4 separate regions of the Homo sapiens genome follow, and all the other regions are linked to region 3. Evidence: promoter capture Hi-C in human tissues and cell types (Jung and others, 2019). All regions are on one chromosome and are shown on one strand. The core of a region is centred on a gene start or on the middle of the fragment in contact, and the rest is flanking DNA. Distances in the headings are between cores, read along the strand shown. Region 1 holds the start of ZNF211 (zinc finger protein 211). Region 2 holds the start of ZNF773 (zinc finger protein 773). Region 3 holds the start of ZNF274 (zinc finger protein 274). Region 4 holds the start of ZNF17 (zinc finger protein 17).

What was found. The method cuts DNA at HindIII sites, captures the fragments that hold promoters and counts their contacts. A contact is called where the count stands out against the background at its distance.
Region 1: the fragment with the promoter of ZNF211 here is called in contact with the fragment with the promoter of ZNF274 in region 3 in 7 of the 25 tissues and cell types used here (adrenal gland, liver, lymphoblastoid cells and 4 more).
Region 2: a contact is called between the fragment with the promoter of ZNF773 here and the fragment with the promoter of ZNF274 in region 3, in 2 of the 25 tissues and cell types used here (liver and spleen).
Region 4: the fragment with the promoter of ZNF17 here is called in contact with the fragment with the promoter of ZNF274 in region 3 in 1 of the 25 tissues and cell types used here (lymphoblastoid cells).

Annotation. Positions count from the first base shown.
Region 1 is chr19:57,630,690-57,637,408 of GRCh38, forward strand. ZNF211 (zinc finger protein 211) reads left to right here and starts at 2,479. Exons shown (of 4, transcript NM_006385.5): 1 at 2,479-2,747; 2 at 3,334-3,372; 3 at 3,940-4,066. The coding sequence starts at 2,658. RefSeq lists enhancers at 2,079-2,168, 2,239-2,288 and a silencer at 2,729-2,798. The HindIII fragment of the contact is 12,794 bases long and covers 1-3,486 here.
Region 2 is chr19:57,495,235-57,501,944 of GRCh38, forward strand. ZNF773 (zinc finger protein 773) reads left to right here and starts at 4,704. Exons shown (of 4, transcript NM_198542.3): 1 at 4,704-4,879. The coding sequence starts at 4,847. It overlaps ZNF419 (zinc finger protein 419), which reads left to right. Exons shown (of 5, transcript NM_024691.4): 5 at 1-864. The HindIII fragment of the contact is 9,164 bases long and covers 344-6,710 here.
Region 3 is chr19:58,180,310-58,186,495 of GRCh38, forward strand. It overlaps ZNF274 (zinc finger protein 274), which reads left to right and starts at 2,752. Exons shown (of 8, transcript NM_133502.3): 1 at 2,752-3,133; 2 at 3,612-3,689; 3 at 5,403-5,529. The coding sequence starts at 3,657. RefSeq lists enhancers at 2,363-3,076, 2,745-3,164, 3,077-3,788, 3,415-3,604. The HindIII fragment of the contact is 17,090 bases long and covers 1-5,812 here.
Region 4 is chr19:57,406,974-57,413,447 of GRCh38, forward strand. It overlaps ZNF17 (zinc finger protein 17), which reads left to right and starts at 4,188. Exons shown (of 4, transcript NM_001330617.2): 1 at 4,188-4,433. RefSeq lists enhancers at 4,192-4,301, 4,382-4,441 and a silencer at 4,685-4,887. The HindIII fragment of the contact is 3,744 bases long and covers 2,848-6,474 here.

The DNA.
Region 1 (6,719 bases), core at 1,229-3,728, 550 kb before region 3:
GAGTACTGGGAAGTTTTGAGTACGTGCAATGGATGGAAACATTGAATTTGGACATAAAGAGTTGTGTCCTTTTTTTTTTTTTTTTTTTGGAGTCTTGCTCTGTCACCCAGGCTGGAGTGCAGTGGTACGATCTCGACTCACTGCAACCTTCACTTCCCAGGTTCAAGTGATTCTGATTCTCCTGCCTCGGCCTCCCGAGTAACTGGGATTACAGGTGCCACCACCACGCCCGACTAATTTTGGAATTTTTAATGGAGACGGGGTTTCACCATGTTGGCCAGGCTGGTCTTGAACTCCTGACCTTAGGTGATTCGCCCACCTCGGCCTCCCAAGGTGGGAGCAGCAATCACACCTGCTGGGATTACAGGTGTGAGCCACTGTGCCCAGCCAGTTATGTCATTTTTCACTAGTTTCTCAGTTGATTACCTGAAAGTATGAATTTTTAAAGCACAATAGGATTCAGCAGTCTCAGGTAGGAAAAAGGTAACCTGGAAAGATCCCTGCATGTGAATGCACACACAGCTTTCAGGGATCTGAGGAAATTCAGCATGTGTAGGATATAGAGGAGATACATGGTAGGAGGTGAAGCAATATGTAATGGTTGGTTCTGTAATATAGGCCCAGCCAAGAACTCTAACCTTTTTCCTAAAAACAATGACAAGCCCATTGTGAGATCTAACCAGATGTACAATAGTAGTCATTCCACTTATAAATTTTTGTAGTAAATGTGTAAACAAATACATTATATATTTGATAAAATCATTTCACAACTTTTAATTTTATTTTATTTTACTGGTATTAATTTGTCCTAAAGGATCATTTTTATTGTGAAACGTAAAATTTGATCTATCTAATATATATAAAATGTATATGTGTACATTTAACAATGTGCATATATGTACCTTAAAATAATATAAACTTTCTGGGCGACGGAGTGAGGCCCTGTTTAAAATAATGATAATAATTTGATATTTTATGCATTAAAAACTTTTGTCTGGGCATGGTGACTCATGCTTGTAATCTCAGCAGTTTGGGAGGCTGAGGCAAGAAGATTGCATGGCCCTAGGAGTTTGAGACTAGCCTGGGCCCTATAGGGAGACTCCATTCCTACAATAATTTTTTTTTTAACTAGCCGGGTGTGGTGGTGTGCTTGTAGTGCCAGCTACTCAAGAGGCTGAGGTGGGAGGATCACTTGAGCCCAGGAAGTGGAGGCTGCAATGAGCTATGATTGTTCCACTGTACTCCAGCCTGGACAACAGAGTGAGACCCTGTCTCAAAAAAAAATTAAATGTTTTGATTATACAAGGAAAATGAACATTCATGTATTAAAGCTTCATGTTTTATGAACAAAACTGACTTTGCAGGCAGGAGAGCGTTTTCTGGGGGCACCAGAAGCAGGGAACTTCCCTTGTCCGTTGGCTTCAGGGCTGCCCACTATCCCTCCACTATCTTCCCATTGTAGCCCTGTCTGGTGTCTTTTGTCCCTGACAAAACCTACAAAAAGTGACTTTAACACTTCAGGCTGCATGCATTTGAAGAGCAATAAGATAACGTTTTTTCGCTTCCCACTACCAGTGGAGATCTGCTGGGGTGGGCTGCATGGAATCTGAAATGATGTCTAAATACTGAAGTGAACCTCTACACTAGAGACTGATATACAGCTGACCCTTAAACGACGCAGGGGTCAGGGATACCGACCCCTGCGGAATTGAAAATGCTTGTATTACTTTTGACTCCCCTAGGTCTTAACTACTAATAGCCAACTGTTGCCCGGAAGCCTTATGAAGTTGCCCGGAAGCCTTATGAATTACATAAACTCCCAGTCGATTAACACATTTTGTATGATATATGCATGATATATGCATAATATATATGATATATGCATTTTGTATGATATATGCATTATATATATTTTAGTATAAGAACTATACTTGTACTAAAACAGACCAGAGAAAGGGTATCAGGAAAATTGTAAGAGGCTCGTTGACATTACACCCAATTAAAAAAAGGAAAATAAAAGAATACGGAAGGGAAAATACATTTACTAATCATTAAGTGGAAGTGGATCATCATAAAGGTCTTCATCCTTGTGTTCTTCATGCTGGGCAAGAGAATGAGGTCTTGCTGTCTCTGGGGCAAGAGGTCGGGGAGCTGGAAGAGGCAGGAAAAGGAGCACACTCGAAGTAACGTTTATTGGGGAAAAAAAACGCCTACGTGTAAATGGACCCGCACAGCTCAAACCTGTGTTGTTCAAGTGTCAACCTACTTAAGACCTCAAACACCGAAGCCCCTCAGTCGCCCTGGAAGGCAGCAGACGCAGCTTCCTAGCGCTCCCAGCTGTCTGCACACAAGGCGCCCTCCGTCGCAGCCTGGGGGAGACTACATTACCCAGAAAGCCTTGCGTCGAGCGGCAGTACTTTGATCCAATGAAAATCCAAGACAGGGGCATTTCCGTGTGGGTCTACCCCCGCCCCCCCCAGGGCGGGACTTGTGGCGTCTTCGCAGCGGTCATTTTGGCTGCCCTCCCGGAGGTCCGTTCTGTCTGTCAGCCGCTTTGGTACGCTGCATCGGGATCGAAGTGACGGACCGTGAAGGCGCGAGAGTCAGGTCTGAGGGTCGGGGGCAGAGCCGCCCGCGAGGCCGGCCTGGGGATAGCGATGCTCGGGTTCCCCCCGGGTCGCCCGCAGCTCCCGGTCCAGCTCCGCCCACAGACTCGGATGGCGACCGCACTGAGGGACCCGGCTTCGGTGAGCGCTGCGATCTCCGGGCCTCCCCCGGCCGAGATTCTTAAGTCCCAAGTGAGAGGCACCAGCTCACGTCTCTGTAGCACAGGGTCGGGGACACTGAGGCTCGTGGGTGGGGCCCCTATTTCTGACATCCGATGTGGTGGGCAGGGGGACAAGGGACAGGACCGGCGCGTGCAGGGCTTGGACGGGCAACCGAGAAGGGGGCATTCAGGAACCTGGGCTCCACATTGTTACTGCAGGGAACAAAGTTTGAGAGAGATCTACCTTTATTCTTAGGGCCGTGGGAGCCATAGAGAGCTTGCGCAAACGAGAGACACCATCTGAGTTAAATTTGAAAAATCCTCTGCAGGCTGTTCAGTGGAAGAAAAGACTTTAGAGATGGATGAGGACGTTGAGGCAGAGGGAGGTTGAATATTTTTCCAAGGCCACACAACTGGTGAGAGGCAGCACTAAGGACCGAGGCGCACAGGTTAGACAGTCGACCCAAAGTTACGTGGCTCTGGGCCGGGGCAAGGGTACAGGGAAGGCCTGTGCCCATGGAGCACTGCCATGATCACATTCCTCTGAGGCCTGCGTCTTTCCACAGGTTCCCATAGCTACAGAGGTGCTTTTCAAACTTACACAGGTAAGTGGAGGTATCTCAGCCCCTCACTGGTCTGGAATGTCCCTCCACCCTCCCCAGACAGATATTTTCTTTAGATTTGTGGTGTCATGGGACTCACCTACCATTCTCTCAGCGTTTGGTTTGGGAACCCTGGAGAATCCCTGAGCTAAGGGCCCTGAGTCCAGGCCAATGTTTCCATTTGGAGCAGCCAATGGAAAGATGGGTGAAAATTTATGATAGAAACAGGTAGGTACCAGCTTTTGGAACTCCTTGGAGGTGAGGCTGAGCTGGTTCAGGGAACTGCAGGTTTCCTTTATTTCTGTGAAGTTTGGCATCTATTGTGAGGAAGTTGGAGTTTGGGATCAGAGGAGGGAGATTTATCTAACCCAAGTGTTGACAGGATACAGAGTGGAAAACAGAATGAACACAGTGACTAATGGGAATGTGAAGAGACAGCAGGGATCAATGACACCAAGGTCTGGTGTCTCTTCTGACTTGGGGATCTTGGGAGGAGAATGTATGGGGACATGGATTTTGAGTCTTCCAAATTGAGACTGTTCATGGTTTCATCAATCCCTATTATGCTAGGGAAGTGTGACCTTTGAAGATGTGGCCGTGTACTTCTCCTGGGAGGAATGGGATCTCCTTGATGAGGCTCAGAAACACCTGTACTTCGATGTGATGCTGGAGAACTTTGCACTTACGTCCTCCCTGGGTAAGGCCCTCATACTCACCCTTGTGCCCTGGACTAGGCTCTCTGTTTCTCCTTTTCCTCAGGAGCAGCTCTGTCCTCATATCTGGACTATAGGCACTGCCTCCTTCCCCAGTTCCCTGGGTAGATGTTGTGGACTGAGTGCAAGCCTACTTCCCTTATCGTCCCAGCCCAAAAGCATCTTGGGTAAGGATTTGGGATCAGTAGTCTTACAGTAAGCCTAATAGATCCCACCTGACTTGCCTTCTCCCTGTCTGGTGACTTTCTAGATCTATGGCACCCAGTTTTCCCTCCCTTCGTGTACCTAACATTTATTTGTGCTAGACTGTGACATGAAATGTAGTCACTGACATTGCCACTATTTACACAGACTGTTCTTCAACCACCAACCTTTCCATTAACAGCAGAACACTCTAACAAATTGTGCCGCAGAGACATTACACAGACTGTTCTTATAGAAACCTCCTTCAAGGTGTTTTTCTTTGTTTTTAATTGTAAAATATATATAACAAAATTTACCATTTTAATCATTTTCAAGTATATAGTTCAGCGCATTTAGTACATTCGCATTATTGTGCAACCATCACCACCATCCTTCTATAGTACTTTTTCATCTTATAAAACTGAAACTTTGTACTCATTAAATAATAACTCTTCCCATCCCCTGGCAACCACCATTTTACTTTTGGTCTGTATGAATTTGTCTACTGTAAGTACCTCATATGAGTGGGATCACACAATATTTGTTCTTTTCTATCTGGCTTACTTCACTTAGCATAATATCTTCAAGATTCATCCATGTTGTAATATATATCAGAATTGCTTCTTTTTAAGGCTGAATAATATTCTTTTGTATGTATTACAGTTTGTTTATCCATTCCTTCATCAGTGGACACAGGTTGTTTTCACCTTCTGGCTGTTGTGAATAATATTACTGTGAACATGGGTGTACAGATACGTATTTGTGTCCTTGCTTTCAATTCTTTTGGGTATTGGCCCAAAAGTAGAATTTCTGGATCATAAGGTAATTATTTTTAATTTTTAAGGAACCACTAAAATTGTTTTTCATAGCAGCTGCACCATTTTACATTCCCACAAGCAGCTGACAAAGGTTCCAGTTTCTTCACACCCTCACCATCACTTGTTATTTTCTGATTTTTTTGATAAGTCATCCAAATTGGTGTGAGGTGATATCTCACTGTGGTTGTGATTTGCAGATTACTGATATTGAGCATCTATTCATGTGCTGATTGGCTATTTGTATATCTTCAAATGATATTGCTTATTCAAGTCCTTTGCCTATTTTTAAATTAGGTTTTATTAATTATAATTAGAAGTATTAAATATAATTTTTTATTGAGCTTTAAGGGTTATCTGTGTGTTCTAGATATTCCCTTATCAGATATGTGATTTGCAAATGTTTTCTCTTATTCTGTGGGTTACGTTTTTAGTGTGTTGATAGGATCCTTTGATGTACAAGTTTCTCATTTTGATGAATTCAGTTTTACTTTTTTACTTTTATTGTCTATGCTTTTTATATCATATCCAAGGAATCATTAACAAGTCCAATGTCATGAAGCTTTTTCCTTGCTTTAAGACTTCTATAGTTTTAGTACTTACATTCAGATCTTTGATCTGTTTTGAATTAATTTTTATATGTGGTGTCAGGTAAGGGACCAACTTCATTCTTTCACATGTAGATATCCAGTTTTCCTAGCATCATGTGTTAAAAATTTGTCTTCTTTCTCCTGGTCAAAAATCATTTGGCCAGATATTTGAGGGTTTATTTCTGGGGTCTCTTCTAGTCCATTGATCTATATGTCTTTCTTTATGGGAGTACCACACTGTTTTAATTTCTATAGCCTTGCAGTAAGTTTTGAAATTACGAACTGTGAGTCTTCCAACTTTCATCCTTTTCAAGATTGTTTTAGCTATTCTGTGTCTCTCGATATTTCAAATGAATTTTAGGATGGATTTTTTTATTTCTGCAAAATAACGTCATTTGGATTTTGATAGGTATCGCACTTTCTATAGATTACTTTGGCTAGTATAGACATCTTAACAATATTGAGCACTCTAGTCCATGAGCAGGCATGTGATCTATTTTATTAATGTTTTATTTAATTCATTTTAGCAAAATTTTGTAGTTTCTAGTGTACAAGGCTTTTACTTGTTTGGTTAAGTTAATCTTTAATGTTTTATTCTTTTTGATATAAGTGGAATTGTTTACTTTTCAAATTGTTCACCATTAGTGTATAGAAACGTAACTGATTTTTGCATGTTGTATTTATATTCTCCTATTTGCTGAATTTCCTTATTAGTTGTAACAGTTTTTCAGTGGAATCTTTATGGTATTCCATGTATATCATCTGTGAGCAGGGATAATTTTACTCCTCCTTTCCCATTTTGGTCCCTTTTCTTTCTTTTTCTTGCCTAATTGCTATGTTGAACAGAAGTGCTAAAAGTAGCATCCTTATCTTGTCCTTAATCTTAGAGGAAAATCTTTCAGTCTTTCATTGTTGAGTATAATTTTAGCTGTAGGTTTTTTTTTTTGCATATGGATTTTATTATGTTTAGGTAATTTCCCTGTATTCCTGGTTTTCTGAGTGTTTTCCCCACGAAAAAGTGTTGCATATTGTCTAATGCTTTCAGTGCA
Region 2 (6,710 bases), core at 3,454-5,953, 680 kb before region 3:
TGATCATCCTGCCTCAGCCTCCCAAAGTGCTGGGATTACAGGCATGAGCCACCATGCTTGGCCTTGTTTTCAGTTCTTAACAGTATCTTTCCTAGAGCAGATTGTCTTAATTTTATGGAGCCCAATTTATCCATTTGTTATTTTATTCATTGTGCATTTGGTGTTGCATCCTCTTACTATACCATATCTTTGCCTATAAATAAAAGCCTTGACTGAGTGCGGTGGCTCACGCCTGTAATCCCAACACTTTGGGAGGCCAAGGCGGGTGGATCACGAGGTCAGGAGATTGAGACCATCCTGGCTAACACAGTGAAACTCCCTCTCAACTAAAAATACAAAAAATTAGCTGGGCGTGGTGGCGGCTGCCTGTAGTTCCAGCTATCCTGGAGGCTGAGGCAGGAGAATGGTGTGAGCCCGGGAGGCGGAGCTTGCAGTGAGCCGAGATTGCGCCACTGCACTCCAGCCTGGGGCACAAAGCCAGACTCTGTCTCAAAAAAAAAAAAAAAAAAAAAAAAAAAAAAAAAAAAAAAAAAAAGCCTTATGTGAGTATGCTACTGTAATCTTATGAATCTTTTTAAATATCCAACTTCTGAAATATTTGTAGGTTTAACTACAAATAAATAATTCAATATATAGATAAATGTGTACATATTCCCTATCTTTACTGAGAGCCTAGCAAGCCATGGCATTCCAGTAGTTTTGAGCACATTTAATACCCAGTTATTGGTTTATATCATTTTTTAATAAAAGGAACCAGAACTCCTTAGAGAAGAGGCTGTTTTCAAGTTGTGGCAGAAAAGGTACAACATGATTTGAGGAAATACTGCATTGGAAAATAAATAAATGTTCACAGAATAATGTTGACATATTAGCTTTTTATTGCTATCCTGACAAATCACCACAAACTTATGGTTTAAACAACACAAATATAACAGAAGTCTCACTGGGTTAAAATCAAAGTGTTGGCATGATTATGTTCCTTTCTAGAGTCTCAGGGAGGATCTGTTTCTTGCTTATTTCAGTTGTTAGCATATTTAAGTTCTTCGTGGTTGTAGGACTGAGATTCCTTTTTCTTGATGGCATCAGCTGAGGGTCATTCCTAGGATATATAAGAACTTTTATGAAAAAGGAAGAAGTAATACCAATTGTATACAAACTTCCAAGAGGACAAAGGTTCAAAGAATTCTGGACTATATGAAAGTTAGCATTAACAGGACACTAAAGCAGGCAATGACATTAAACAAAACTATAGACCAATAATCACATGAATATAGACACAGAGCCTTAAGAAAATTTTAGCAAATTGAGGCACTCGTCCTTCAAATCACCCCCTTGGGTCTCTTCCAAGCATACTTGCCTTTCTTTCCTGTTCTAAAGCCTTTTTAAATAAACTTGCACTCATGCTAAAACAAAACAAAAAGACATTTAGCAAATTGAATCCAGCCATATACAAACAATAATAAATCATAACCTAGTGAGGTTTATCAATAATACAAGTTTGATTCAACAATTCAAACTCTTTATTAATCTATATTAGCAGACTAAAATGAAAATCTCAAAATGTAATAAAAGCATTTTACAAAATTCAAAACTAGGTTATGATACATGCAACAAATTAAACAAGATGGTGATTTCTTCAACCTGATACAGCACATCTATGAAAAACAGCTAACAGCACATTTGATATATATGTGATCAAATATTTGATAAGCTGATTTTCCCCAACATTAGGAATAACATAAATACGTCAACATTCATCACTTCTCATTAAAAAAAAAATCTAATGATTGTAAAGGCAGAACCCAAACTGTCTGTATTTACATATGACATGATAATGTTGAAAATTCGAAATTATCTACTAAAAAGCTACTAGATCTAATAATTGAGTTTAGCAAGGTCCTAAGATAAAAAGGCCAGTGTATAAAAAGTAGGTGTCTCTACTAGGTTGGTATATAGCTAGCAAATACATGCTTGGCAACTGAAAAAATGTACTTCACAATAGCATAAAAATATGAAATATTTAGAAATAAATTTAACAAAATATGTTCAAGAACTTTAAAACATTCCTGAGAGACATTAAACAAGGCATAAATAAATGACACAAGAAGTTCCTGAATCTGAGACTTAATACTTTGAAGTTGTCAGTTTTCCTTTAACTATCCTAATAAAAACCTAATCTTTTAAATAAAAATTTACAAATGTATTCTAAAAAGTTACATGGAAATACAAAGGGCCTGGACTAATTGCCAAAACAATTTTATAAATAAGAATAAGTTTGAAAATCTTTATGACTTTAGGACATACAAACGTACAGTAATTGAGAGTACAGTATTAGCTAAAGGACAGAGATGAACAGAAGAGAACAGAGAACCCAGAAATACACTCACACAACACTCTATTGTCAATCTCTTTTCAAGAAAGTTGCAAAAGTAGTAAAACAACTTCAGAAAACAGTGTAGCAGCTTTAAAGGTAGCATAAGCTTACCATATAGTTTAGGAATCTTACCTATTGGGATATCCCCAAGAGAACAAAAGCATATGTTCTAGAAATACTTACACTTGCATGCTCAGCAGTTTTATTTATAAAACCCAAACACCAGAATTTGTTTTTAAAACACACACACACAAACTAAAATTTCCGTGAACAGAAGAATGAATAATCAATTATGGTATATCTTAACATAAAATACCATTCAACAACATAAAAGAATAAACTATGAATACAAGTAAAAATATCATAGATAAATCTGAAAATCCCTGAGCCAAGTGGAAGAAGCCAGACACAAAAGTTGACATACAGTATGATTCCATTTATATGAAATGAAGAAGCTGCAAAACTAGAGTAAAAGAATGCAGATCACTGGTTATTGAGCCTGCGGTCTGAGGGGGAAGGTTCTGACTGAAAGAGTACAGGAAAACGTTATCAGGCAATGGTAATTTTCTCTATCATGACTGTGTTGGTGGTTTCATGACAGTACAGCTGACCCTTAAATAACACAGGTTTGAAATGCACAGGTCCAATTATATGTGAATGTTTTTCAATAAATATACTGGAAAAAATTTTTGAATATTTGAGACAATTTCAAAAAACCAGAATTCATTGAAATAGGTATGCCAAGAATGCATAACACAAAATATATGTAGGTTCTATTTTATCATTACAAAACCAGAGCGATATTTTCTTTTCTTTTTTTTTGTTTTTGAGACGGATTCTCTCCCTGTCGCCCAGGCTGGAGTGCAGTGGCATGAACTCCACTCACTGCAAGCTCCACCTCCCGGGTTCATGCCATTCTCCCGTCTCAGCCTCCCGAGTAGCTGGGACTACAGGCACCTGCTACCACACCCGGCTAATTTTTTGTATTTTTTAGTACAGACGGGGTTTCACCGTGTTAGCCAGGATAGTCTCGATCTCCTGACCTTGTGATCCACCCGCCTTGGCCTCCCAAAGTGCTGGGATTACAGGCGTAAGCCACCACCTCCCTACTCTTTCTACCCAATAAATATGAAGGTCTGTGGAAGCTCAGGGCCCTTCCTCACTAGAAGCAAGAAGCCCCCTGACCCCTTCTTTAAAACAGATTTATTTTGCCTTTGTTTTCATTTCTGCATTCGTTCCCCTTCGTTCAGTCCCATAGTAACTGTGACAGGAATATGGAGCAGAAATGGATGAAGGGGAGAAATTGAGGGGGAGTTGGCTTATGGGTTTGCTGCCTGTTGTTGTGCCTTTACACCAATGTTGGGTCCTTGAGGAAGGAAAGAACACAAATGAGAATGGGGTGAAAGAGGAACGTAAATCCTTGGGCTCCCCTACTCTCTCATCACCTACATCCAGAATTCAGAGCCTTTTCTTATTATCATACATCAGGCATTAATATTGGGTGTCCCCTTGCCAAAGGAAATTTAGGAAGGTATACGTGGCTTTGCCCAGTGAAACCTCTTTATGGTGGCCCTGAAGATCCTCTTCAAGTCCTTCAAAAGAAGGAAAGATTGGAGTATCAGCTGCAGGAAACTGAAATCCAGGCCCATCTCCAATTACAACAGGTTCCAGATGAGTCCGAGAGTTCTCGACACTCATTTCTCCTCCATCTCCTACTCCATCATCTCCATCTCCATCTTCTCCATCATCTCCATCTTCATCATCATCTCCATCTCCATCATCTCCATGTCCATCATCATCTCTATCTCCATCATCTCCATCTCCATCATCTCCATCTCCATCATCATCTCTATCTCCATCATCATCTCTATCTCCATCATCTCCATCTCCATCATCTCCATCATCTCCATCTCCATCTCCTACTCCATCATCTCCATCTCCATCTTCTCCATCATCTCCATCTTCTCCATCATCTCCATCTTCTCCATCATCTCCATCTTCATCATCTCCATTTCCATCATCTCCATCTCCATCATCATCTCTATCTCCATCATCTCCATCTCCATCATCTCCATCATCTCCATCTCCATCTCCATCTCCATCATCTACCGTCTCCAATCTCCATCTCCGAAGTTATGCCCACTTCCTCGAAGTTTGGAGCCACGCGAACTACACTGCCCAGAAGGCGCCGCGCCGTGAGCCGCGATGCTTGGCCAATGAAAAGAGGTCTACCCGAGAGTGCGACGCGCAATGGGCGGGACTTCCGGCGTCTCCCCTCGGCGGTTGCTTTCGCTGCCCTCAAGAGAACTCAGCTTGCCGGAAGCTGGTTGTTCGCTGCGGCGACCAGCTCCGGAAAGCGCGGTGGGGACGCGCTGTGTTCTCGCAGCTCAGAGGCGGGTCTGAGGCTCGGTGGCGGCGCCCAGGGTGGCCCGGGCCCTTTCCTCGGTCGTTGTCTCACCGCCACAGGCTCCGATGGCGGCGGCCACGCTGAGGGACCCCGCTCAGGTGAGCGCCGCGTCCTCCCGGCCTCCCCCGAATCCTAAAGCCCTGTGAGGGCCGCCTGCTCAGGTCCCCGGGTGCAGAACTGTGGGGCGTTCGTGGGCGGCGTCCCGTTTCTGACACGCAGTGTGATGGGGTGGCAATGGAGGGCAAGGGGCCCGGCTCGCAAAGATGTGAGGCGCATTCAGCGAGTCCCGAACCTGAGGCCTCCTGGTGTCTGTAGTGGGCAGCTTGGGAAGGGACGAGGCGCGTGTCGAGCGACAGCCCGAGCAGCTGCGCTTTCATCCTGAGGGGGCCACAGTGGCCGCGGAGGGCTGGAGACAGAAGAGTGACAAGATCTGTTTCTCAAAGTTTGCCAAAGGCCCTTCAAGTCAAAACAGACTGGGGTGGGGGTGAGGCGGGTGAAGACAGACCTGTGAGTAGGTAAATTCAGTAGACTAGTGGAGAGTCTACTGGGACTGGGCCACAGAGGAGGGGAAGTGATCAGATCTTGGATGGATTTCAAAAACTGAACAGACGGGAATTCCTGTTGCATCAGATGTGACTGTGAAAGAAAGTAGGGAATGAAGAGCCATTCTGGATTTTTATTTGTATTTTTGTTTGTTCCTGAATATCAGGAAGGATGGAGATGGGTAAGGCTGTGCAGGGAATAGGTTTTGGGCATGGTGATCCTGAGATGTCCCAGAGTGGAGGTGTCATGTCCACATGAGCAGCTGGAAGGCCTGGGGCTCGTATTTAGGAGGGAGAATCTTAAAGTTTTCTTTCAGATGGTCCCTGAGGTGAGGGAAGGGAGAGATGGGCCTGTAGGATGGGGCAGCCTCTACAGCCTGGAGTTTCGTGGTCCGAAGTGATTTTGTCTGGTGCCTGCAGGAATGGAGGGTTATAGAGTATGAACACCCAGGACTGGATGGAGACCGCAGTGTTGGGTAGTATATAGGTTTGCCACTCCAGGCTTAGTAGTTCCTCATGTCCAGTCCATATGGAGAAAAGGAAAGGTCAGCCAGGCTGGTGGAGCAGCACCTTTGGTGCCTAAGTTTCCCTAGCTATCAGCACAGGTGGGATGATCAACTGCTCCAGTAGAAGGGAGGGCTCTCAGCAGGATGGTCTTCAGGGGAGTATATAGCAGGCAGCCAGATTGCCAAAAGGAAACCCACATTGTCTTTCTTTTTCTTTCTTTTTTTTTTTTTTTTGAGACAGAATTCTGCTCTTGTGATCTGCCCACCTCGGCCTCCCAAAGTGTTGGGATTACAGGCTTGAGCCACTGCACCCAGGCAGAAACCCACATTTTGAAAACCTACCAGTTTATTTGCACTGAAAATGTTGACAGAAGCATTAATTATGTGTACAGTAAGAGTTGATATTTAGTCCTAGACACATAAGAATGAGTTTGATACAAACAATAGTCCTATTGAGTGAATACCATTATTGCCATGTTGCAGATGGCAATACCAAGGCACAGGGAAGTTGAGCATTTTTCCAAGGGCACACAACAGGTAAGAGGCATCACTAAGAACCAAAGCCCAGATTGCAGATAGTCAGGCACACCTGACTCCAGGCTAGACGAGGGGGCTTGGATGATCCTTTGGTAACATCACTGTCTGGTTCTCATGGTCTTGATTTTCCATAGGTTCTTGTGACTTCAGAGTTAGTTATAGACCATGAGAAGGTAAGTGGAGGATGTCTCAGGCCCTCACCCTCCTCAACTCCTACCTACATGGTCTTCAGAATTATGGTGTCTTGGGACTCCTTGCTGGCTATTCTCCCTCCCCTTCCATTTGAGTTCCCTGCAAAATGGTCATACAGTCAGGGTCCTGAGTCCAGACTACATATTATTATT
Region 3 (6,186 bases), core at 1,502-4,001:
TTTCAACATTTTACATGTTTAATAGTTAACATTTCTTCAGAAGTCATTTTTATTTTACAAATTACAATAAACAGCATATTTAATTTGCTAAACAGGAAAAGAGTATGCAGTTATTAAAAGTTGAATTAAAATGGCTCTCATAAATCAATCTTCAATAATATGCTTATATAAAACCATCTTTAGGTTGGGCACAGTGGCTCAAGCCTGTAATCCCAGCACTTTGCGGGGCCGAGGTGGGCGGATCCTCTGAGGTCAGGAGTTCGAGACCAGCCTGGCCAACATGGCAAATCCCCATCTCTACTAAAAATACAAAAATTAGCCGGGCATGGTGGCACGCCCGGCTACTCAGGAGGCTGAGGCAGGGAGAATCACTTGAACCCGGGAGGCAGAGGTTGCAGTTGAGCCGAAATCACGCCATTGCACTCCAGCCTGAGCGAAAGAGCGAGACTCTGTCTCAAAACAAAAAAAAAAAAACAAAACATCTTTGGTCAGGCATGGTGGCTCACGCCTGCAATCCCAGCACTTTGGGAGGCCAAGGCGGGAGGATTGCTTGAGTCCAGGAGTTCAAGACCAGCCCTGACAACACACTGAGACCTCATCTCTACACAAATATTTATTAAAAATTAGCCAGGTGTGGTGATGCACACCAGTAGTCAGTCCTAGCTACTTGGAAAGCTGAGATGGGAGGAACACTTGAGCCCAGGAGGTTGGGCCAGCAGTAAGCCATGACTGCAGCACTGCTCTCCAGCCTGGGCAACAGAACAAGACCCTGTCTCAAAAACAAATTCTTTTAATCAAAAATCAGGTTTTATCCTATACCACATAAATAGAAAGAAATCATTAGAAGAATTTCCACCTGCCTGGGCAACATAGTGAGGTTTCTGTCTCTACAAAAAAGTACAAAAGAGGCCAGGCGGGGTGGCTCATGCCTATAATCTCAGCACTTTGGGAGGCTGAGGTGGGCAGACTGCCTGAGGTCAGGAGTTCGAGACCAGGCTGGCTAACATGGAGAAACCCCGTCTCTACTACAAATACAAAAATTAGCCAGGCATGGTGGCACACACCTGTAGTCCAAGCTACTTGGGCAGCTGAGGCAGGAAAATCGCTTGAACCCAGGAAGCAGAGGTTGCAGTGAGCCGAGATTGTGCCACCTCACTCCAGCCTGGGCGACAGAGCAAGACTCTGTCTCCAAAAAAAAAAAAGCCAGGTGTGGTGGTGTGCACCTGTCCCAGCTATTTGAGAGGCTAAGGTGGGCGGATCACTTGGGCCCAGGAGGTGGAGGCTGCAGTAAGCTGTGATCGCACCAATGCATTCCAGTCGGGGTGACAGAGCAAGACCCTGTCTCAAGAAAAAAAAAAAGAAAGAAAAAAAAGAATTTCCAAGGGGGTTTGCTTCCTTGTGATTATGAAGGGCTAGACGTATCCTATTCAAATCCAGAACAAAACAAGACTATTAGTAAACATGACTACTTAACATAGCTCTGTCATACTAGCTAGGACTATACAATGTTAATTTTTTAAAGTTGAAATATGGAAAAAGAAGATATCAAATTACTTATTAATTGGGGATGGTGTTGTATCTATAATAGACACGAAAAATCCAATGAAATATTATTAGACTATAAGATATCTGCACAGTCTCTGAGTAAATACTCCTATGCCAAAATCAACACACTAACAGCAACAATTAAACAATGTGTAGCCTGAGGTTGGATCCTCCACAGTGACCAAAAAAACCAACAACCCGTGGAACAAGTTTAGCAGGCAGTGTACACGACCACCAGAGGGAGGCAGAGGGCTGCTGAGACCTGCCAGGAAATATCAAGAAAGAGGACACAGGGTCCTGAGCACTGAGAGAGATCATTAGGGCCCTCAGGTCCCAAGAAGACAAGACCATACTGGGACCTGGGACCTAAGGAAGATAAGAAAACACCAGATGTCGGTCCTTGAGGAAGCCAAGAGAATACCTCCTTGTCCTGAGCTCCCAAGGAAGATGAGAGCACCCTGGGCCCAAGGATGGGTGGCACACACCAGGTCCTGGACAGCTACAGACTTAGGTTTCCTCTCCCTAGACATGAGCACCTCAGCTTCCAGGAGCAAACTGGACCACAGGGGGACACTAGGCAGAGGATCCTGCTCCTCCTCCCCAATGCCTGGGGTACAGTTAGCCCTGATCATCTCTCCAGAACTAGGGTAGACGTTTGGCCTCATTCCCATCACACTTGTGGTCCACCTAGTCTTCCCTCCTTCCCCTTGCACACCCCTGACCTTCCTACTCCCTTCCTCTAATCCCCAGAACTAGGGTGGACGTTTGGCCACGTTCCCATCACACTTCCGGTCCTCCGAGTTTCCCTCCCCTCCCTGACCTTGAGTGGACACTTGGCCCTGTCCACCCTCACTTTCAGGCAGGACCCATCTCCCAGAAACATAAGTGCCGTCAGTCCCAACTCCTGCACACTTCCGGCTCTCCCAGTCCTCCCCTTCTTTCTCGACTTTGAAACTGGTGGAACTTCAGTACCTCTCCCCACTCCCCCCGCGACTTCCGTCTTCCAGTCCCCCTCCTTCCCCAAAAGTTGCGTGGACTCTAGCCCCGCCTCCTACATTCTCCCCGCCCTCCCTGTCCCCGCCCCTCCACCCAGATGGACGGCCAGTTAGGCCCGCCCCCTGCACTTCCGGCCCTACCCGCCCTTCCTCTTCCCAAGGGACGTCATAATTAATCCCGCCCCCACCGCCACCCAACCAAGCATCACCCATTCCAGCACTTCCGGCCTGACCCCTGTCCAGCGCCTTTCCTTTCTCCAGCTTCTGCTCTGCCCCAAGAGTGGTCGCCTTCGTGGCAGGGCACGACTCTCTCCCAGCTCGGGTCGCCGCCCACATTAGTGTGGGGCCCTGCGGCCTAGCGTCCCTCACCAGAGGCCTCCCCTTGCCTAGCTGGACCGCCGAGGGACATCGACGAGTATCCTCCTCCTGCTGTCCCCGGCTTCGCCTGCCGCCCCTAACCGGCCAGTCAAGATGGCCGCCGCTGGGTGAGGCAAGCTGGCGCGCCGCGGGGGCGTCTGGGAGTTGTAGTTCGGGACGGCGGGCTGACGCACTTCGCCGCCGGCCGACGGGCGCCATTGTGCGGCGCGCGCCGGGTGAGTGCCGCGCGAAACCTGCGTCCGTCGGGGGCTGCGCTGGGCGGGTCCAGAACCGTTAGTTGGGGGCGAGCGCGGCCTCTGCATTTTCCGCCGAGCTCGGGTACCCTGAGCCGGCCGTGCCTGCAGTCCTCCCGCCGCTCTGTGGGATGGGGTCGGTGACCCGGAACCCCGAGGGGAGACAGTGCTTTCGGGGCGCCGCGGTGGAGAGAACAGATCGCCTCCGGAAGCGTGGGGTCTGGGCCAGGGAGGCGATCCCCTCCGATGCGCGGGACAGAGGAGGCTCGGTGTCCTCTCGGGGAGGGGAAAACTGGTCCTATCCAGTCCTGTGGGAGTCCTATGACTCACTCTGGGCGTTTTCCAGTTTGGGTGGACTTGTCATTTCCCGCTGAGGGAGCCGTTCCTGGGCGGAGGCTGCGGTAGCTCCCCAGCGGACACCTTAAGCCTCTCCCTCCCCTCCCAACTTCGGTTTCCTCAGGACTCTGCCCACTTCCACCAGAGACACATTGAGAAGGAGGAAACTATGGCCTCCAGGCTTCCGACGGCCTGGTCCTGTGTGAGTAGAGGCTTCCTTCAGCTTTTGAGTCCGCTACTGCACCTGGGAGGATGCGGATGGTGGTGAGATACCACCTTCCCTGAGATACCCCCATCCTCCAGAGCACCTCGGGGAGGGGGTAGAGATTGGTTGGGCATGAGAGATCCTGCGTGATGGTGGAACCGCAGGTTGCTTGGTTTTCCAAGGGTGTAGTTAGAATAGAGACCAGATTGTAGGGGCTTCTGAAGGCCAGGTTAAGGCTCTTGCTTGTATCCTTTATATTGGGAAGAGTAATTGACAGGTCTTTTGTTTGTTTGTTTTTTGTTTTTTGAGATGGAGTCTCCCTCTGTCGCCCAGGCTGGAGTGCAGTGGCGCGATCTTGGCTCACTGCAACCTCCGCCTCCTGGGTTCAAGTGATTCTCCTGCCTCAGCCTCCCCGAGTAGCTGGGACTACAGGCGTGTGCCACCATACCCAGCTAATTTTTTTTTTATTTTTATTTTTTGTGTGTGTTTTTTGTGGAGACGGGGTTTCACCATGTTGGCCAGGCTGGTCTGGAACTCTTGACCTAAGGTGATCCGACCATCTCGGCCTCCCAAAGGTCTATGCAGGGATCAGGCTTATGTTTAGATTTCAGCAGATAAATTGGCATCAAGCAAGAGGTGACAGCAGCAGAGTTCAATAACAAGTAGAAAAGACAGGTGAGGATGGATCCCTGACAGGTGAAGGAGATAGAAAGAAGCATCAGGGCCCTGGGTAGGGGCTGACGGCTTGGGTGTGATGGTGCAGCTCAGAGAATTCCCTAGGAGGCATACGCACCACTCCCAAAGTCAGAATTTTCAAATGAATAAGAAATAGGGGGCCGGGCGCGGTGGCTCACGTCTGTAATCCCAGCACTTTGGGAGGCCGAGGCAGGTGGATCACGAGGTCAGGAGATTGAGACCATCCTGGCTAACATAGTGAAACCCCGTCTCTACTTAAAAAAATACAAAAAATTAGCCGGGCGTGGTGGCGGGCGCCTGTAGTCCCAGCTACTCGGGAGGCTGAGGCAGGAGAATGGCGTGAACCGGGGAGGCGGAGCTTGCAGTGAGCCGAGATGGCGCCACTGCACTCCAGCCTGGGCGACAGAGAGAGACTCCGTCTCAAAAAAAAAAGAAAAGAAAAATAGGGCCGGGTGCGGTGGCTCACATGTGTAATCCCAGCACTTTGGGAGGCCGAGGCAGGCAGATCACAAGGTCAGGAGTTCGAGACCAGCTTGACCAACATGGTGAAACCCCATCTCTACTAAAAATACAAAAATTAGCCGGGCATGGTGGTATGCGCCTGTAATCCCAGCTACTCAGGAGGCTGAGGCAGGAGAATCGCTTGAACCTGGGAGGTGGAGGCTGCAGTGAGCCAAGATTGCGCCACTGCACTCCACTAGGAGACAGAGTGAGACTCTGTCTCAAAACAATAAATAAATAAATTAAATAAATAAATAAATAAATAAAATGGACAGATTTTCATATGCTACAGAGATCTCATGTGTTGCTCTCCTTATTGTAACCTGAATAGAGTCAAGCTTGGGTTTGCTTGGGGTTTCAGACAAAGACAGGAACTCAGGATGAGACTCCCAAAATGCCCTTGGGTCATCTTGTAGACCATTCTGTGCTTTCACTGGCCTGGTCAGCCTCCCCTGTCTTTCTTTTGTCGTGGATGCGGATGGCCTGTGGCTGAACAAGAATCTGGATTTTTAGGAACCAGTGACCTTTGAAGATGTAACACTGGGTTTTACCCCGGAAGAGTGGGGACTGCTGGACCTCAAACAGAAGTCCCTGTACAGGGAAGTGATGCTGGAGAACTACAGGAACCTGGTCTCAGTGGGTAAGGCTGGCCTCCAGGTCAAGAAGGATCTGTGCTTTGTAGCACAAATGTAGCACCTCTGAAGTATGTGTCTGCTTGGGCTCACACTGCAGGGGCACCAGTAGGAAAAGGGCAGCTTTTCAGTATGACTTCTGAATCATTGCCTAGTCCATCCCTCCCTGAATACCAGGGAGATGGGTCTGTCAGGGATGTTTTCAGCTGCAGTAGTGGATGCTTATTGTTCTTGCAACAAGAGTTCCGGCCAGGCATGGTGGCTCACTTTAGGAGACTGAAGCAGGAGGATTGCTTGAGCCCAGGAGTTTGAGACCAGCATGGGCAACATAGACCGTGTCTCTATTAAAAAAAAAAAAAAAAAGAAACTCCACAGAAATTCCAGACAATGCGATGCCAGTGTCCCAACAGCTTAGGAGTAGCATCAAAGAGCCTGTCCCTGCCAGGCACGGTAGCTTACGCCTGTAATCCTGGCACTTTGGGAGGCTGAGGCAGGCAGATCAGTTGAGGTCAGGAGTTCTAGACCAACCTGACCAACATGATGAAACCCTGTCTTTACTAAAAATACAAAAATTAGCCGAGCACCCCAGCTACTCAGGAGGCTGAGCCAGGAGAACTGCTTGAACATGGGAGGTGGAGGAGATTGCAGTGAGCTGAGATCAGATC
Region 4 (6,474 bases), core at 2,938-5,437, 770 kb before region 3:
AGAAAAAGAAATGAAGATACAATAATACAGAAAGAACAGAGGGAAAAACTTTATTTATATTTAATACCTATGATGTGACATGCCCGGAGTTAGGAGCATTCATAAGCACCATCTCATATTATCCTCCAACTAAGCTACTCATGTCAGAAAAAATTAAAATTAACAAAGGTCAACAGGGAGTAAGAAATAGAAAATGGAAAGGAAACAATTTTGGAGTGAGACCTACAAAATGATCTCAGAATTTACCCTCTGATAAGTCTTTCTTTGATCCCAGAGTGCACAAAATGTTACATGAAAAAACAAATTAATATAATTACATCTAAATTTCAAGCTTTCTATTTCATAAAGATTATGAGTCAAAACTGAGTGAGTTCAGGGACTCAGAGAAGACATTTAAAATATCTAAATGTGCCCAGTTTTACGGTTTTAGGCATGCGAGTTTTAGATTTTTTTGCTTTTTTATTGAGACAGGGTCTCTTTCACCTAGGATGGAGTGTAGTGGCGTGATCTTCACTCACAGTAGCCTCCACCTCTCAGGTTCAAGCAATCCTCCCATTCAGCCTCCCCAGTAGCTGGGACTACAAGTGCGCACTACCATGCTTGGCTAATTTTTAACTTTTTTGGTAGAGACGGGGATCTCACTATACTGCCCAGGCTGGTCTCGAACTCCTAGACTCAAATGATCCTTCCACCTCCACCTTTCAAAGTACTGGGATTACAGGCATGAGCCACTGTGCCCAGCCAAAGTTTCAGATTCTTCTTAAAGGAATAAAGTCAGAGATCTTAGAAATGAACTAAAGCACGAGCATACAATAAACAAGAGAGAAAAATCAGATGGTTATCAAGAATATGAATGGATATTCAAACTCGGTGTCAGAGAAATGCAAATTAGATATTATTGCATGTTACTTTAAGTTCTATAAATTACTATACTATGGAAAGAAATATGGGGTGATGTAGCTGCAATCATGTATATTTCATGGAAGAGTCAAAGACTGTAGCAGTTTCATAAAGCAATCTGCACAGGTACTGTAAAAAAAATGATTTTCTAGAATATCATGTGACACAGAAAGCCTGTTTCTGGTATATCTCTCAGTCAAGTCCATAAATTCTTATGTGAGAGAAGTTTTCTCACAATACTGTTCAAGGCAGCAGGGACATGGAGACAATATGTTGTAGCATTAAGTGTAAGAGGAGGACCAAAGACATCTATGAGTGAAGTAGAAGACTGAATGTCCACACTAAAGTACAACAGGGCAGTTACTAGCATTTAAGTAGACTTTGACACAGGAGTATATATACATATTAAACACACATTTTGAGTACCAACAAAGGGAGAAAGAAGTCTATAGTACAGTACAATTAAACTACACAAAAAGTAACAGTGCTCCTCTTTCTAAAACACATGTAAATACAAAAACACACAACAGACCTTTAGAATTGTTGTCTACAAGTGGTGGGGTGATGAAGTGTGAGGAACAGGAATGAGTGGAAACACGTCGGAACATTGAACAAGACGAGGTCCTTGTGGGGACATAAGGAGAGAATGTCCACTCACTGTCCAGAGCCTCCTGGGCCATTGTCACCATACAGCCGCTCATTACATGAAAGTGGAATTTCAAAAGGTAGCGAAACACCTAATAAAATATGTTGAAAGGGCTGGGCATGGTGGCTCATGCCTGTAATCCCAGCACTTTGGGAGGCCAAGCCGGGTGGATCATGAGGTCAGGAGTTCAAGACCAGCCTGGCCAACATGGTGAAACCCTGTCTCTACTAAAAATACAAAAATTAGCCAGGTGTGGTGGTGCACACCTGTAGTCCCAGCTACTCGGGAGCTGAGGCAGGAGAATTGCTTGAACCCAGGAGGCAGAGGTTGCAGTGAGCTGAGATCGTGTGACTGCACTCCAGCCTGGGCAACAGAGCGAGACTCTCTCTCTCTCCCTCTCTCCATATATATATATATATATACATACACATACACAAAGATATGTGGCCTGTCACCAAGTGTTAGATGGATGTTTGGGCCAGGCGAGGTGGCTCATGCCTGTAATCCCAGCACTTTGGGAGGCTGAGGCGGGTGGATCACCTGAGGCCAGGAGTTCAAGACCAGCCTGGCCAACATGGTGAAACCCCGTCTCTACTAAAAGTACAAAAATCAGCCAGGCGTGGTGGCCATGCCTGTAATCCCAGCTACTCAGGAGGCTGAGGCAGGAGAATCGCCTGAACCTGGGAGGCAGAGGTTGCCGTGAGCCGAGATCGTGCCATTGCACTCCAGCCTGGGCGACAGAGAGAGACTCTATCTCAAAAAAAGAAAAAAAAAGTTTGTTTAGTTTCTGTTGGTAAATATCTAGAAATAGAATTGTAGGATGGTAGGGATGTATTGTTGGTAAATGATTAACATGTTTTTAATTTTCAGTTTTTTCAGAGACGGGGATCTCACTATATTGCCCAAACTGGTTTTGAACTTATGAACTCAAGTAATCCTCCCGTCTTAACTTCCATGTAGCTGGCACTACTGAACAGCTTTAACTCTTCCAGACCTTCAGTTGGGTGGTTTTTTCTTTTCCTTTCGTTTCCTTCTTTCTCTCTCCTTCCTTCCTTCTTTTTGTAATTTGATAAACCAAATTTCAAGACTTTGGCCAAAAAACAGTCTTCTCCTTTACTGAATATCTCAGTGCTCCATTTTATTTTTCCCTCACCAATTCTGCAGGAGAGATCACAAGACTATGTCCATATCTTTATTTGTGGGGGTATGATTTTCAGCTAACATAGCTGCTAAGTGATTTAATTTACAATTATAGTGGTAGAAAAATAGCTCTAACTTCTGAGGTTTTGTAATTTATTGTAAAAAGCGGAATACAGGACATTTAAAGTGACCTGACAAGGTCAATACAGGACTGAGGACTAATTCATTAAATACGTCTTACGTGTCTTAGAGGACCACAGACAGCTAGCAACCCTACTCCTAATGTGTCCCATGCACTTAGTATTGTACCTGGCATCGAATGAGTGTTCATCAAATATGTTAGAGTAATAAATACGACAGCACAGTTTCCCTATTCAGCTTTACTTTTCTGGTAACTCTTTTAATATATAGTCTTTACCTCTCCCTTCAAGCTGTTAATGCACAATGTTTTCAAGTTTGAAAAAGAATCAGATTTTGGACACCAAACTTGAGTGTGTCCAAGGTTCCAGGACAACCTTAGCTTTTTTCCTCCTATCACAAATATGTTTCTCTATAACTATTTTTGCCACTTTCTTTGGATATCTACATAATCGTCATTAATAGTTTCAGTAATAGCCATTTCACAAGAGTTATTCAGAGACAATTTCAACTCCCTGTGCAGACACTGTTGATACAATTTCAGGCGAAATGATAAATCACTTTCCACTAATGAGATGAGATCATGCATTCCCAAACCTTTATCTCAGGAGTAAGATGCTTTCTTTGCACAAGGGCTTTGACTGGTGGAAGGCCACACTATTCTGGCAGATAATGGTAGATAAGTCGCTTTTCCTTTTCAGTTAGGTTTCAGTCTCTTAAAATAAGTGGAAAATATCTCAGATATAAAGTAATAAGTATCATGTGAATAAAGTGTTGCTGGGTAGGCTGAAAGACAATAACTGATTATTCAGAAAGGAAAGATATTACTCCTCAAACTCCCCATCATGCCATGTCTGGGTCTTTTCAATGTGCCCAGCAGAGCACATTGAAGATCATAAAACAGTCTCCAGAGCTTCGTTCTGTGTGTATTTGGCAAGCACAAAAGAGCTGACCGCTATGCGTGGAAGACCAGTTCTTTATGGTTGGCCATGTTCCTTCGGATGTTCGTCTTTTGGGAACTTGCTGTGCTTTACAGAATCTGAAAGGACAGGTCTCTGAAACATTTCTCTGACTTGTTCTAGACTGCCTTCCGGGAAAATCTGGATGCTTGCCGTTTAAAAGCCAATGAAGCCCCTCCACGTCCTTGGAGCCCCGCAACTGCATTTCTCAAAGCCTCAGGAGGATCCTCCTGGCTTTCATCCTGAACGCGAGTTAACTTAAGTTCAGAAGCGGGGCAGGCAGTGGCCTGGGAACTACATTACCCAAAAGACACAGCGGCGGACACAAGCAGCGAGTGTAGCCAATGAAGGCCTAGCAGAGCGGCGTCTACGGGGGTTCGCAATGCGTGTGGGCGGGACTTCCTGCAACGCCTCCTGGGGTTGTCAATATGGCTGCGTTGGGATCTGTTCACCTTCAGGCTGAGTCGAGACTGAGGTGAAAAAGCGGAAAAACGCGAGAAAAGGTTTCCCCGTTGTACAGAGGCTAGAGTGAGGCTCGGTTGAATCGGTTGCAGGCGTTGGTGCCTCTGTCAGCGTCCAGGTCACTGCCGCTCCCGCCCCGCTCTTCCCTGGCTGTGCTGGCGGAGGCTGCGCCGATGAACCTGACTGAGGTGGGTGCCGCGTCCCAGGGCGCCCCGCCCGATCCCTCCTCCGAGTGCCGAAGCCCCGAGGAGGGGCCCTGCAGGTCAGGCCCCTGTGTCCCAAAGAGAGGAGCGTTCTTGTGTGGGGTACCGGTGTCCGCGGTGCTGTGAGGCGGGGGAGCTCCTGTCAGGGACCTGCACGTGCGAGGCTTAGAGGTGCTGCAGAGCGGGCGGCACTGGGGAGCCCGAGCGTCTTTGTCTCCACGGAGCTGAGGGTGAGGCGGAGTCTCGCCTGGGAGGGCAGCGGAGCTGCTGAAAGCCGTAGAAGGCTGTGCAGGAAGGGTTATGCCCAGAGGTAGACGTTTAAAGTTGGGAAAAACAGGATGTTAAACCAGGACAAGGGGACCGCTGAGGAGACCCCTTGAGTTATGGTAGGGATGGGCCAGAGGGGTTGCAGTAGAGGGGAAGTGTGATGAGATTCTGGATGGATCTCAGAGATAGAGTCGACAGGATTTCCTGCTGCATCAAATGTAGCAGTGAGGGTAGTGAAGGGTCTATTCCATGGATTTTGTTTTGGCCTGAAAATCTGAAAGAATGGAGTTGGAGAAGTCAGCTTAGGGAGCAGGTTTCAGAGAGGATTATGAGTTGCATTTTGGAGGGCTGAGTTTTGGAGGGCAGATCATGGGTGGGTCCATAAGCCTGACGCTACCTTTAGAAAGGCGCAGACCTGTCATAGGAGGGATTCTGGCTCATATCTGCAAAAACGGAGTTCTGAATGGGTTAAGGAACTGGCCTAGGCTGGAGACTGAGGTGTGAGGTGGTTTAGATTTCTGCACCTGCAGACCCAGCAGCCCCCCAGGCCCACTCTGTGGAACAATAGGAAGGTCATCCAGACTAGTGGGGACATTGGGTCCAGACGGGGGTAGGGCTTTCTCACATCTAGTCAAGGGCCTCCAGCAAGCTTCCAGCAACTGAATTTGTAGCAGGCAGGCCTGGTTGCTGATGGGACCAGTAACTGACCTGCTTGCTTATCCCCTCCCTGCAACTTATTTATTTATGAATGTGTAAAACATTTTTTTTTTTTTTGAGACAGAGTCTCGCTCCATCGCCCAGGTTGGAGTGCAGTGGCGCGATCTCGGCTCACTGCAAGCTCCGCCTCCCGAGTTCAAGCAATTCTCCTGCCTCAGCCTCCCGAGTAGCTGGGACTACAAGTGCCCGCCACCACGCCAGGCTAATTTTTTGCATTTTTAGTAGAGACGGGGTTTCACCGTGTTAGCTAGTATGGTCTCTATCTCCTGACCTCATGATCTGCACGCCTCAGCCTCCCAAAGTGCTGGGATTACAGGCATGAGCCACCGCGCCCGGCCGAATGTATAAAACATTTATTTAACCACTAATGAACCAGTATCCTTCTAAATATGTACACATAGGTCGGCAGTTAGAAATGAATGTAACCAATAGTTAAATTTATTCACTTAATAATTGTTGAATGTTGATTTTTCTTTTTTCTTTTTTTTTTTGAGACGGAGTCTCGCTCTGTCGCCAGGCTGGAGTGCAGTGGCGTGGTCTCGGCTCACTGCAACCTCTGCCTCCCGGGTTCAAGCGATTCTCCTACCTCAGCCTCCCGAGTAGCTGGGATTACAGACATGCGCCACCATGCCCATCTAATTTTTGTATTTTTGATAGAGACAGGGTTTCACCATGGTTGGCCAGGATGGTCTTGATCTCTGCACCTCGTGATCCGCCCACCTCGGCCTCCCAAAGTGCTGGGATTAGAGGCTTGAGCCACCATGCCCGGCTGAATGTTAATTTTTCTATTTGCTTGCAATGGAAAGTTTTATGTATCACATTTCCTTAACACCGTAAGAAGTGGGAAAAATACACACCCAAAATTTCAAAACCCTTCCATGTCATTTGTACCGAAAACATGTAAAAAATATTTAATCCAGTAGAAAGAAATTGCTGATACATAGTGTGTACTACTTATATTTGATGCCCATATAAGCCCTATTAGTTGGCAATCCTTTTAATCTCTATTTTACACATAAGGGCACCGAGACTTAAGGAAGTT